Regions from separate parts of the Homo sapiens genome. Here all the other regions are linked to region 1. Evidence: promoter capture Hi-C in human tissues and cell types (Jung and others, 2019). All regions are on one chromosome and are shown on one strand. Each heading gives the region's core, a stretch centred on a gene start or on the middle of the fragment in contact. The rest is flanking DNA. Distances are from core to core; before and after follow the strand shown. Region 1 holds the start of ZNF503 (zinc finger protein 503). Region 2 overlaps LRMDA (leucine rich melanocyte differentiation associated). Region 3 overlaps KCNMA1 (potassium calcium-activated channel subfamily M alpha 1). Region 4 has its middle 120 kb from the start of KCNMA1-AS1.

Region 1 (2,967 bases), core at 125-2,624:
ATGGGGGGGGAGCGTCACACAGAGAAAGAAGTGGAAACCCTTTAGAATCCTGGCTTCTGGGGTTCAAATGCCTCTCCGCAACAGCCCACGAAGATCCTCCCAGCCCCAAGGCGCAATTCTAGGCGGCACCCCCTCTTCAACACCCACTCACAAACATTCTCGCCGTTGGGAAAGGCAGCAGATTGCTCCCCCCGCCCAACCACCACCCCCAGCAGCATCTTTCCTGCCCTCTCTGAGCGCTAACTAGATTTTTAAAGAGCAAAATGTTTTGGTTTTCGGTTCCTAGACCCAGAACTGTACCCCCTCCCCACAAACACTCCTTAATTCTTCAGAGTAAGGGCTCGGGCGGCTGGCGCCTCAGAGGCTGTGTGCACACACTGGCTTCTGCGGATACGAAGGACGGCGACTTTGGAACCGTATTTCAGACCTCCGCCTGCCTTCGGTGCCGAGTGAAGGGGCCTGGGTCGGGGTAGGGGCTTTCATATCGAAAGGAGAAACAAGTATTGGCAGCCTTGCTCCCTAGCATGCACGCCCCATTCCACTTCCTCCCCCTTTTCCGCCCTAGTTTTGAGGTACGGAAGCAGTAGCCTCTTCCCCCATTCGGGAGCTGAATCACTCCGACCCCCCCACCTCCGCCCAGATCCCGAGAAAAAGAAAGCCCTAGGGTGGCAGCCAGGGTAGTGGTCCCAGTGCGATCCAGAGAGAGGGTCCTTACCTCGATGGGGCTGACCGGCGTGGAAGGCAGGGGCTGCAGGTACTCGGGGTGCAAAATGTGGCCAGTTCGTGCCGTCAGCATCTTCAGCACCTTGATTGGCAGGCGGTTGGCCTGGCGCAGGGGGTCAGAGGGGGGCACGGCGTGCACAAAAGGCTTGGTGCTGCCGGCCGGGGACGAGCCTGGGCCGGGGCCGGAGCTATTTCCAGAGAGCGCGCTGGTCCAGGCAGGGTCTGCACCGCCGCCTCCGCCTCCGCCGCCGCCGCCGCCGCTGTGCTTACTGCTTCTTAGGGCAGAAAGCGAGGGCGCTGTGCTCATGACCCACCCGCGCGCATGGGAGCAGCGGGGGGGAGGGCTCCGGGAGGCGCGGGGCGGGCTCGGGGCTGCGCGCTCGCCCCGGGAGCAGGAGCAGCGGGAGGAGGAGGAGCTGGCGCGGCGGCCACGGGCGCCCAGCGCGCCTTCTCGGCGCCTGGAGCCAGACGCGAGTAATCCTGGGTGGCCCGCAGCGGAGCCGTGGCCGGGCTAGAGGAGCCGGCTGGACTGCGGGAGTGCCGGGCGGCTCGCGGTGTCCGCCTCGGGCTGCTCCCCTGCGCTGCGTTCTCGCGGCCCCGCGCCGGCGCTGCGCTCTGCGATGCGAGCCGCTGCGTGTCCAGCCGGGGCTCTGGCGAGGAAACTCACTTCAAAAGCAGCTGCACCAAGGGGGAGATTAAAGCCTTTGCCGCCTTCCAATCAAATGGGAGCCCGAGGTGATTGGAGGGTCAAGGGGATGTGACGCGTCCCGCGCCGCCGCCGCCGCCGCTGCCAGGACTCTCAGTGCCGGTTTTAATGGGCAGCTCCCTCTTCGCCGCCCCCCTGTGTGTCCCCTCCCTCGATTTCGCTGGGAGGACGAGATGGACATTTATTCTACGTTTGCCATCCGCCGCCTCCCTCTTTTTTCCTCCTCGTCGTTCTTCCTTTCCCCAGCTCGAAAATAAACTGAAACCTTCTTTTGAAGGGGGGTGCGCGTGAGGAACAGACTGCGGGGGGTGTCCAGAAGGAGCACCGGTGGGAGTGTGGACACCGGCCGGACTGTCAACTCCAGGGGCGAAGGGAACCTGCACACCCAGTGTTTTTTCCTTCGCAGTAATCGAGATCCCGCGCGGCGCAGCGCAGCCACCAGGGTAAGAAGGCAAGGTGGGGAGCCGGAGCTGGAAGAAGCCCGCCCGCCCGCTCTAATTTCCTCAGATTCCGCGGCGGAGAAACCAGAAGCTAGATGGGCAGTCGCAGCGGCGGCGGCTCAACACCGCGAGGAGCGCTGGGCTCTCCGCCCTTCCCGGCCACGTGACGCCCGGGGACGCGTAGATTGGGGCAGCAGCGGGGGTCACATGTTTCCTCTGTTTCACCCTCAGTCTGTCCCCCAACCCCCCATTCTTACTCTCCCACCCTGTTTTCCTCCCTCCCCCCCTTCTTTGGGCATCTCCACCCCTCCATCAATTGTCAATGTTCCTCGACCGCAATCAATCAGTTATTTGTCAGCTCTTGTCAATCCTCCCGTGATTTATGTCAGCTTTTGTTGCTGATTACAAGGCGGGTGCGACTTGAAGGGAAAAAGAGAGAGGGAGAGAGAGACGGAGAGGAAGGAGGAGATTGAGAGGGAACTGGAGGAGGGGAAAAGAGGAGCGGCCTCCTGGGATGGGGGTGGGGTGGGGGCTCTAAGAAAAAGAATGAAAGAGGCGCACGGTGTCAGGAAAATGAATAGCGAGAGTAAAGTGCGCAGGTGCGCCCAGGGCGCCGAGAGGGGCGCGCAGGCCTGGAGTGTGCGCCTGCCCTCTCGGTGTCGGAGAGACGCCCTTCCACCTCTGGGAGCCTCGGTCTGTTGGGGTCGCGGAGTTCGGGCGCGGCTCCGGGTACCCGAGACCAGCGGCGGCAACTTCTAACACGGGAGATTTCCCGCCACCCCACCCCGCCGCCGCGAGTCCTCGCGGGGCGTGTTGCGTGCGGAGGTCAGGCTGCCACCCTCTGTAGTTCCCTAACCCCAAACTCGGAGACTTCTAAGAGCCACACCACCAAGGAACTTCTAGTCCTGGAGGTCAATGGTGGGGCAAACCTCGCCTCAATTCTTTGACCCCCTCGGGTCGTAAGCAGGGCTAAGAGGCTGCGAAGAAGAGGCCTGGCCATGGGTGTATGGGGGAAGAAACATCTCAGGCTCACTCATGCCCCCTCCCCGACCTTCTCCCACCTGCCGCCATCCCCGCAGGCTGGGGAGCCAGGGTAAC
Region 2 (3,023 bases), core at 524-3,023, 1.1 Mb after region 1:
CATAACCAAAGTGTTAATTCACGGCTTGACTATGAATTCTTCTCATAACCTTCTGGGCCTTCTGTTTGGTAAACAGAGAAAGTTAGTTCCTTTATACATTTATTTATTCATTCATTCAGCAAAGATTGGAACCATATTTTGAATTGTAGGACATGCAATACAGGTTGTGGTTTCAAAGATGAGTCAGACAGTATCCTTGGGTTCAAGTAAATTTCTTTTAAGAGGGAGTAATAGCAATCAAATGCTTGACTGTGCTGCAGTGGGATATGTGTAGTGGTTGTGTGATGGGTAGTGCACAGAAAGAGAAAACAAGGAACCATTAATTCTGCCAAGGGGAAATCAGAGAAGTCTTCTAAGAAGAAATGGCATTTTATTTGGGCCTTGAATGATAAGGAGAGTTTTATTTGGCAAAGAGGAGTCTTGTCATGTGAATCATCATGGGAGGTTTGGAGGAACAAGCCATTTCAGCTTTTCCTAGGGTTAGAACCTTTACTTTAGGAATGCATTGTTTTCTTCTTTTGATTGGGAAAACCAAAATCTGAATGGTAAATTTAAAAGTTACATTGCTTTAGTTATCACAGTTCTTCTAATTGTGTGTTTCTCAGATGAATATGACATGCCTCTTACGATCTTGCTACAGAGTGGATTTTATGTTAAATTATGGCTTCCTGGTGATTCTCAGAGTTTTATATCCCATTTTTATTTAAATTATTTTCATAGTTGTAATAACAAATAAATTTCTTATTCAAAGAAGATGCAGCCTTTGAAATGGATCTTAATTTGAATGTTGACATTCCAGTAACAAAACAAAAATAACCACTTGTAGATGGAGAGCGAGAGCGAGAGTGAGAGAGAGCGAGAGAGAGAATGAATCACAAACACCTGTAAAGTGTAACTATTAGTTTCAAATAGGATATTATTGAATCTGTCCTAAAACCAGTTGATTGTGATTATTCTAAATTTTACCTTGAGTATATTGACCATGACAGGCCAACTTCAGTTCCTATATCCGGATTCAACTGGATTCATTGCACTTTGATTCTACCATGAAAAACAATGCCTTTGTGTAAAGTCATGAGCACTTCTTTCCCTTCTTGGTTAACTGTGTTTAGATCTTTATCATATAAGACCTGACTTTATGTTCATTGTTGAAATTGTTGCTGGTTTCTTTTGCTCTTACACACCCATGCTGGCCTCCAAGAACAACTTGCTGTCATTCAGGAGCTTGCAAACTCATTGCTTTAATTAATTAACGGAGGCTCTTTGGAAGTTAGGGTCATTTGTTTTTAATTTTCAGTTAAAGGCACCTATGGATTTCTATTTTAAGAATAGACACTGTCTACTTTACTTGCTTATTATACTTTGATACTAAAATACAGCTATAATGGTTCTGCAGCATTGCCAGTTATTTAAGTATTCCTGAGTATTTAGGTAAAGGCTGGATGGCTTGGAACTACTCTAACATGGCAAAATATGTCATCAATGTTTTGCTCCAAGAGTATCCTGTAATGTATATGCTCAACTTGAGAAACAAAATATATTATAATTTTAGGTTTCAAAGCATAAATCCTTAACATATTTACTGGTTACTACATGCTGGGCACAGTGCCAGGCTCTTAAGTGACTGCAGTAGACTGTAGACAGATCAGACTTCTTGTTCTCATGAAGCTTGGAATCTAGTGGGATGCTCATTCATTGACCTATGAATACGTACTGTGTTATGTGCCAGACACTGTGATAGATCCTGTGCTTTGCCCCACAGGTCAAGGCACTAATATAGTATTATGTTTGGTACATAGTTGGCCCATAACTCACAGTAAAATTAACCTTTCCATTCTCTTTAACATATTACATTATTACATATTAAGGAAGAATGTGAAAAAATGTAATCATAATATCAGAGATTGCTTTTTGCTCACAAAAATCCACATTTTCTCCTGCTTTTGGGGTACCAAGCTAGACTTCATTTCATTCTCCTTTGCAGTTAGGAGAGGTCACATGAGTGTGTCACACTCGTGAAAGATATGGCCACATGTGTGTATTTTAGCCAATGAAATGTTCGTGGAAGGGATGCGTGGCAGTTCATGACCAAGGCTTTTGAGAAATGGCTGTGCCTCTTCCACATTCTTTCCCTTTCCACTGGCCTGATGCAAATGAGAGGACTCAATAGGAGAAGGCAGAGCCACAAAAATTACACCTGGAGGAAATTGCCTGTATTGGCCTTTTGAGTAAGAAAGATGTAAACTTCTATTGTGTTGGGCCACTGAAATTTTGGGACTTATTTGTTACAGCAGCTTGTATAATCCTTGTTAATGCAGTAACAGGATAGTTATAAGATGGCTCATTATAAAAATTATGACAGATTATCAAGGCATATTCCAAAAAATATTATCATTTGGCAATGATAATACATGTCATTCAGAAGCTGAAGTTTCTCATTGTCACCTTGCGGGGGTATATTGACAAAGATTATTATTGCCATTCAAAATATGAACACTGGATCTCACATAAGTCATGTGACCTGCCAAAATTTGCAAACCTGAACTACAGAGGAGCTAGTACCAGCATCTAGGTATTCTGTTTCTTAGTTCTATCCACCCACCCCATTATACTACCTCCATGATATTTATGTCTAAAATTATTATAGTTGTTTGTTTCTAAATTTTGTCTGCTTGCTTTCCTTGCCTGTCTTCCACCAGCAGATTATAGTGTCTGTGACCTAAGACTTTGCTATGTGCCAGGCAATAGCCTTGCATATCCTCACACAGGGATACACTGCCGTATCCCTAGCTACCAGGATATTGCCCAGCACATCGTAGACTCTCAGTAAATAGTTGTGTCATGTAAGAAAGCATGAGTCCATGACCAGAAAATAACTTTTCAAGTCAGGCATTTTGTAATGCAAATTAAACATGGGTCTTATGCATTTTTGTGAAAGAAGGAGGGAAGGAAGGAATAAAAGAAGGATGCATTATATATGTGGAATATATGCTCTTGAGGGGGTTGGAAGAAGAGGAAGGCAG
Region 3 (2,902 bases), core at 49-2,548, 1.7 Mb after region 1:
TAAACATACAACATTAATTTTCCTATTCAATCTAAATTCAGCCAAAAATCTAAACAACAGCTTAAAGCACTCCCACACTAAATGAAATTTCAGATCACAAATGAAAGAAGGAGAGCTCGTTGCTGCAGGAGCTGTCACTAGTCACAGCCTTGCTAATAAAATTCACCTCCACCTACAAGGGCTGCCATCAAAAACTTCTCCAGCTTGACACCCGTACATTACCAATATCCTCACTTTATCTCTTCAGTGTCCTTGGGTTTTCCAGAGACAAACAGGCGAATGTGACCTTGGGTGCCCACCACCAAATCCGTTGGCTGGAGAACAACACGTTCTGCAAGGGAGCCACCTGCCGAGGGCTGGGCAGTGGCTGGCAGCAGTCAGCCGTTCTGGATGGTGGGCCAGTCACTGACAGCAGGCTCCACTCAGTGACAGCCTCTGATGGGCCTCCACACAGCAAAATGGGCCAGCACTTGCCAGCAATTAAGAAATAACGGCATGGCACTGGTGCATTTGGCAGAATGGGGTTTTTCTCTGCATCACCTGACTGCCTATTTCATAGGGAATATGGCCCATAAGAGGGGGTACGCTGTTACTCATAACCCAGCAGCGAGTTATTCTGTACAGACAGGACACCTGGCTCCAGGTACTGGGCAGCCTCCGGTTTCTAGGTTTCATTAAGGACATAACTGGTACTGCATCAAATGGAGAAAGGTGCCACCTTCCCTCCCCTAAAGCTGTTTTTTTGGAAGTTTATTGACTGGCTGAGAGAAGGAGCACTGCCTTTGAATGAGACACTGGACTCTGGTTTACTGAGAAGTAATCACAGGGAAACAGCATAGACTCTGACTTTTGTCTTCTTTCTAATCAATCCCCCACTGTAAGCTATAACACAAGGAAAATTCCTTTCTCTTTAATCTCTGGATAGCTTACTATTTTCCTGATTCAACTCTGCAAATTCTCATCTCGACTCTGGGAATGTGTCCCACATTACACTCTTACAGAGCGCATTATGCACTCACTAGTTCACCTGGTCTCAGATAGAGAAATCCTATCACTCACTTGCCTGGAGCATTCTACACCTTAACTGCTAAATCCCCGAGGACACAAAATAGGGCTTCTCCTTCACTGATATTCCTGTGGGTGTCAGGGAGAGTGCTAATCACACAGTATGTATTCAATAAATATTTACTGAATAAGTAAATGACTGCAGCACATACAAATAAAAGTTGTTGTAACTTAAGTATGGATGGGATCCAAGAGTAAATCAATAGTTCTGAACCTCGGGTTCCAATAGACACTTCCCGAATGAATGAATCAGTACATGAAGGAGCATCCTTCCAGTGACCAAATGCAAACACGTTGTTTGGACTAAAGAAATGGGCCAGAGGCGTGGTGGCTCATGCCTGTAATCCCAGCACTTTGGGAGGCCGAGGCGGGCAGATCACCTGAGGTTGGGAGTTCGAGACCATCCTGACCAACATGCAGAAACCCCATCTCTACTAAAAGTACAAAATCAGCCTGGCATGGTGGCGCATGCCTGTAATCCCAGCTACTCAAGAGGCAGAGGCAGGAGAATTGCTTGAACTTGGGAGGTGGAGGTTGTGGGGAGTCAAGATCATGCCATTGCACTCCAGCCTGGGCAACAAGAGCAAGACTCCATCCCAAAAAAAAAGAAAGAAAGAAAGAAATGTCCCAGGAAGATTTTTAACAATCACACCTCTTTACCCAGGTCTTTGAGTTGCGCACATGTGGGCATGTGAGAGTGTGTGTGTGTGTGTGTGTGTGTGTGTGTGTGTGAGCCTGTATAATGAGGAAGAAGAGGCTGGACCTGTGGATGGGTCTTCAGACCTGGAGCGGGCTCTCGCACTCCTACCTTGTTGTGATACTGCAGCATTTGAGTGATGATTCTTATCTTCGGATGGTAGTTCTTTATGGAGATTACTCTGAAAAAGAAAGAACCAATGCTGAGACAGGTCTGCCTTATGCATGGTGTCTGACAAAAAGATCAATTTTACTGTCTCCAAATGGGGTACCCATGGGACTGAGGTAGGAGGCAGGACTTGATTCCAGAGGCAGGGCTCAGATACCAGACAAAATTGAAGACTAGCTGAAACAGGGATGGGGCAGAAGCAACTTTTCACTGGACAAGCCCAGCAGTGTGCCCTGTCAGTTTACCATTGCCATGGCAACACCCAGGAGGTTCCCTATAACCTCTAGGCCCTAGAACATTACTATTACTAGATCATAGGGGATTGAAATGCTTCATATTTCAAGCCCGTTGTCCAATTATGAAATCAACTATCTCTTGGAATATGTTCATAGTGACATAACTTTACAGGCACATACCAGGTCCTTTCCTGAAAGCAAGTTGTAATGCATGGATGAATTCCAGTCCCAGTTCCATCTCTCACTACATACAATTTGGGGAAGCCACCATGAGGAACAAAGAAGGCCATGAAAGAGGAAACCCTTTAATATGATTGCCTAAGTGTCTGGGTGGACAGTGAGAAAGAAAGCTCAAAGAACTTGCTTCTATCTGCACTGGGCTCATGGGACTTGCCTTTCTATGGCAATGACCCGGTGACCCAGAAGTTACTACCCCTTCCCTAGAAATTTTTGCATAAGCTGCCCCTTAATCTGCATGCAATTAAAAGTAGGTATAAATACGACAGCCTGCCCAGAGCTGCTACTCTATGGTGTAGCCCCGCTGTGCAGGAGCAGTCACAGAGCTGTAATACTACTGCTTCAATAAAGCTGTTTCCTTCTGCCCTACCATCAGCTTGCCTTTGAATTCTTTTCTGGGGGAAGCTAAAAACCTTCATGGGCTAAGCCCCATTTTGGGGCTCACCTATCCTGCATCAGGACCAGCAGCCAGGGCTATCCTGAGGGGTTGCAGACACTG
Region 4 (2,957 bases), core at 412-2,911, 1.4 Mb after region 1:
GTGGTTATGTAACATCTCTAGGCCTTGATTTCTTCTTCTTAAAATGGGGATACTAATGCCAGTTTTGCAGATCACTATGAGGATGAGAATAATATTGTAAAGAACTGGTCACCACAAATGGCACATAATAGTTGCTCAATAAATGACACATGTCATCATATGTGTATATACATATACACATAAATATACAACACACTTATACACACACATTTAGTTGTAGTAATAATGATCATATATATGATTATAGTAATAACAATTATCAAAAATTACAACTAGATGAATGAGGTTTGCAATTGAATATTTATTTAGATACATGGGTACTATTTTTTCTCAGGCATAGGCTACTTGGAAAGCAAGAATTCAGTAAATGATCCATTCAACTGTGTTTTATACCTGATTCTATAGTCATGCATTGTGTAATGACATTTTAATCAATGTCGGACCACATGTGCAATGGTGATTCCATAAGATTATAGTGGAACTGAAAAATTCCTGTTGCCTAATGATGGAACGGTGGTAACATAAAACAATGCATTACTCATGTAATTGTGGTGACTCTGGTATAAACAAACCTACTGCACTGCAAGTTGTATAAATGTGTAGCACATACAATTATGCATAGGACATAAATATTTTTTTTTGAGACAAGGTCTCACTGTCACCCAGGCTGGAGTGCAGTGGTGCGATCTTGGCTCACTGCGACTTCTGCCTCTGGGGTCCAGTGATCTCCCCCCTCAGCCCCCACAAGTAGCTGGGACCACAGGCTTGCACTACCATTCCTGGCTAATTTTTTGTATTTTTAGTAGACACTGAGCTCAAGAGATCCACCCACTTTGGCCTCCCAGAGTGCTGGGATTATAGGCTTGAGCCACTGCACCTGCCTCATAATACTTGAAGATGATAATAAACCACCATGTTACTGATTTATGTATTTACTATACTATACTTTTTATTGTTACGTTAGAGTATCTCCTTATATTACTTTTTTAAAAAAATTTAGCTTCATAACAGCCTTAGACAGGCCCTTCAGGAGGTAACCCAAGAAGGCATTGGTATCATAGGAGATGACAGCTCCATGTATGTTATTGACCCAAAAGACCTTTCAATGGGACAAGATGTGGGAGTGGAAGACAGTGATATTGATGACCCTAACTCTGTGGAGGCCTAGTCTAATGTGTGTGTCTGCATCTTAGTTTTTAACCAAAATATTTAAGAAGTTTTAAAAAAGTTAATAGAAAAAAGCTTATCAAATAAGGATATGAAGAAAGAAAATATCTTTGCACAAGTGTGAGCTGTGTTTCTGTTTTAAGCTGTTACCACACAAGGGTCACAAAGTTTTAAAAAAATTAAAAGTTTATAAAGTTAAAAAGTTACAGTAAGTTAACGTTAATTTATTATGGAAAAAGAAAAATATTTTTGTAAATTTAGTATAACCTCAGTATACTTGTTTATAAAGTCTACAGTAGTGTACAGTAACGTCCTAGGCCTTCACATTCACTCATAGCCTCACCCAGAGCAATTTCCAGTCCTGCAAGCTCCATTCATGGTAAGTATCCTGTAAAGGTGTACCACTTCCTATCTTTTATGCTGTATTTTTACTCTTCCTTTTCTGCCTTTAGATACACAAATAACATTGTGTTATCATTGCCTACAGTATTCAGTACAGTGATATACTGTAGAGGTCTGTAGTGTAGGCGCAATAGGCCATACCATATAGCCTAGGTGTGTAGTAGGCAATACCATCCTGGTTTGTGTAAGTGCACTCTACGTTGTTTGCACCACCATGAGATGGCCTAATATCACATTTCTTAGAACATATGCCAGTCTAAAACTACATATATATATATATATATATATATATGTATGTATGTGTATGTATGTATGTATATATATATATATATATATATATATACACACACACACACACATAAGAAAACTTAGGAGCTATATGTAATACTTATAGAGGAAGGGTTAAAAGAAATAATTCTCCATGAATCACTTATTAGTAGTAATAGAATGATAGTGGTAGTAGTGATATTGATGGCAACACAAACTATACCAAGTGTTTTCCAGTTTATCAATTTATGTTCATTCAAATACTCCTCCTTTCCAACACTTTAAAACCACCAAGCAAAATAACATTTAATCTTAGGTCTAAGATGAACAAATTGAGAATTTGAAAAAATACATAACTTGACTCTTTTTTTCGTTAAATATGTTTCCTAACTTGTCATGTACTCAGTGTAGTGCTATATGTTTTGGGCACAAAGAAGACTAACACATGATAACTGGGTACAGGGCATTCAAACTGAGATAAAGCAGTATTTTTCAAGGGGCCACCTGCTATGCCCTAACAACAGAAGTTTCTGGGTCAAAAATGTGTGAATTTCTACCTACCACCTATTACCCTGATGGAGATCCACAATGCACAAAGGCATATTCAATGTGCTAAGAAGTCCTAGAGAGACCTCATTGACTCTGCATTTCAACAATGAGTTGACCACAGACTCTCTTTGTTGGAAAGACATTTATTTATATCATTTGGGAAATCTTCAGTAGAAGGAAATGGACATATAAACACATGCACCGACCTATGATAAAGGCTGAGGCAGCTTGGTGGCCTGAACAGCCTGGGAGCAGAGAGGATAGAAGGGTCTGATCTGCCTCTGCATTAACCAAGGAGTCAAGAAAGGCCCCCACCTTTGAACCAAGGTCATGGAGAAAAAGGGAGGACATCCTGGGATCATCCCAGAGTGTCTTGAACTAAACTGCAGTGCCCTTAGCAAAAAGAGACAGACTTTCCAAGTTTACCCTTTCCACTCAACAGAGATGCTCCAAGAAGGGTGATGTCCTCAGGTTCTTGTTCTCTTTGGGAAGCTCAGCATTGGTTTTTCAATATGCAAAACAAGGAAGTTGAATTTGGTCATTTCTCATAATATGCTGGTGTTCCATGATTT

What was found. The method cuts DNA at HindIII sites, captures the fragments that hold promoters and counts their contacts. A contact is called where the count stands out against the background at its distance.
Region 2: a fragment that was not itself captured here is called in contact with the fragment with the promoter of ZNF503 in region 1 in 1 of the 25 tissues and cell types used here (dorsolateral prefrontal cortex).
Region 3: a contact is called between a fragment that was not itself captured here and the fragment with the promoter of ZNF503 in region 1, in 1 of the 25 tissues and cell types used here (lymphoblastoid cells).
Region 4: a fragment that was not itself captured here is called in contact with the fragment with the promoter of ZNF503 in region 1 in 1 of the 25 tissues and cell types used here (dorsolateral prefrontal cortex).

Annotation. Positions count from the first base shown.
Region 1 is chr10:75,400,390-75,403,356 of GRCh38, forward strand. ZNF503 (zinc finger protein 503) reads right to left here and starts at 1,375. Exons shown (of 2, transcript NM_032772.6): 1 at 716-1,375. The coding sequence starts at 1,030. It overlaps ZNF503-AS2 (ZNF503 antisense RNA 2), which reads left to right and starts at 1,139. Exons shown (of 2, transcript NR_024421.1): 1 at 1,139-1,872. RefSeq lists an enhancer at 377-877. The HindIII fragment of the contact is 17,931 bases long and covers 1-2,967 here.
Region 2 is chr10:76,532,306-76,535,328 of GRCh38, forward strand. The region is part of intron 6 of LRMDA (leucine rich melanocyte differentiation associated); the gene reads left to right. Among named protein-coding and RNA genes, the nearest start is that of KCNMA1-AS1, 350 kb to the right of the region's middle. The HindIII fragment of the contact is 3,476 bases long and covers 36-3,023 here.
Region 3 is chr10:77,077,608-77,080,509 of GRCh38, forward strand. KCNMA1 (potassium calcium-activated channel subfamily M alpha 1) reads right to left here. Exons shown (of 28, transcript NM_001161352.2): 13 at 1,874-1,943. Among named protein-coding and RNA genes, the nearest start is that of KCNMA1-AS2, 62 kb to the right of the region's middle. The HindIII fragment of the contact is 7,464 bases long and covers 1-2,902 here.
Region 4 is chr10:76,769,968-76,772,924 of GRCh38, forward strand. No RefSeq gene overlaps it. Among named protein-coding and RNA genes, the nearest start is that of KCNMA1-AS1, 120 kb to the right of the region's middle. The HindIII fragment of the contact is 4,891 bases long and covers 1-2,957 here.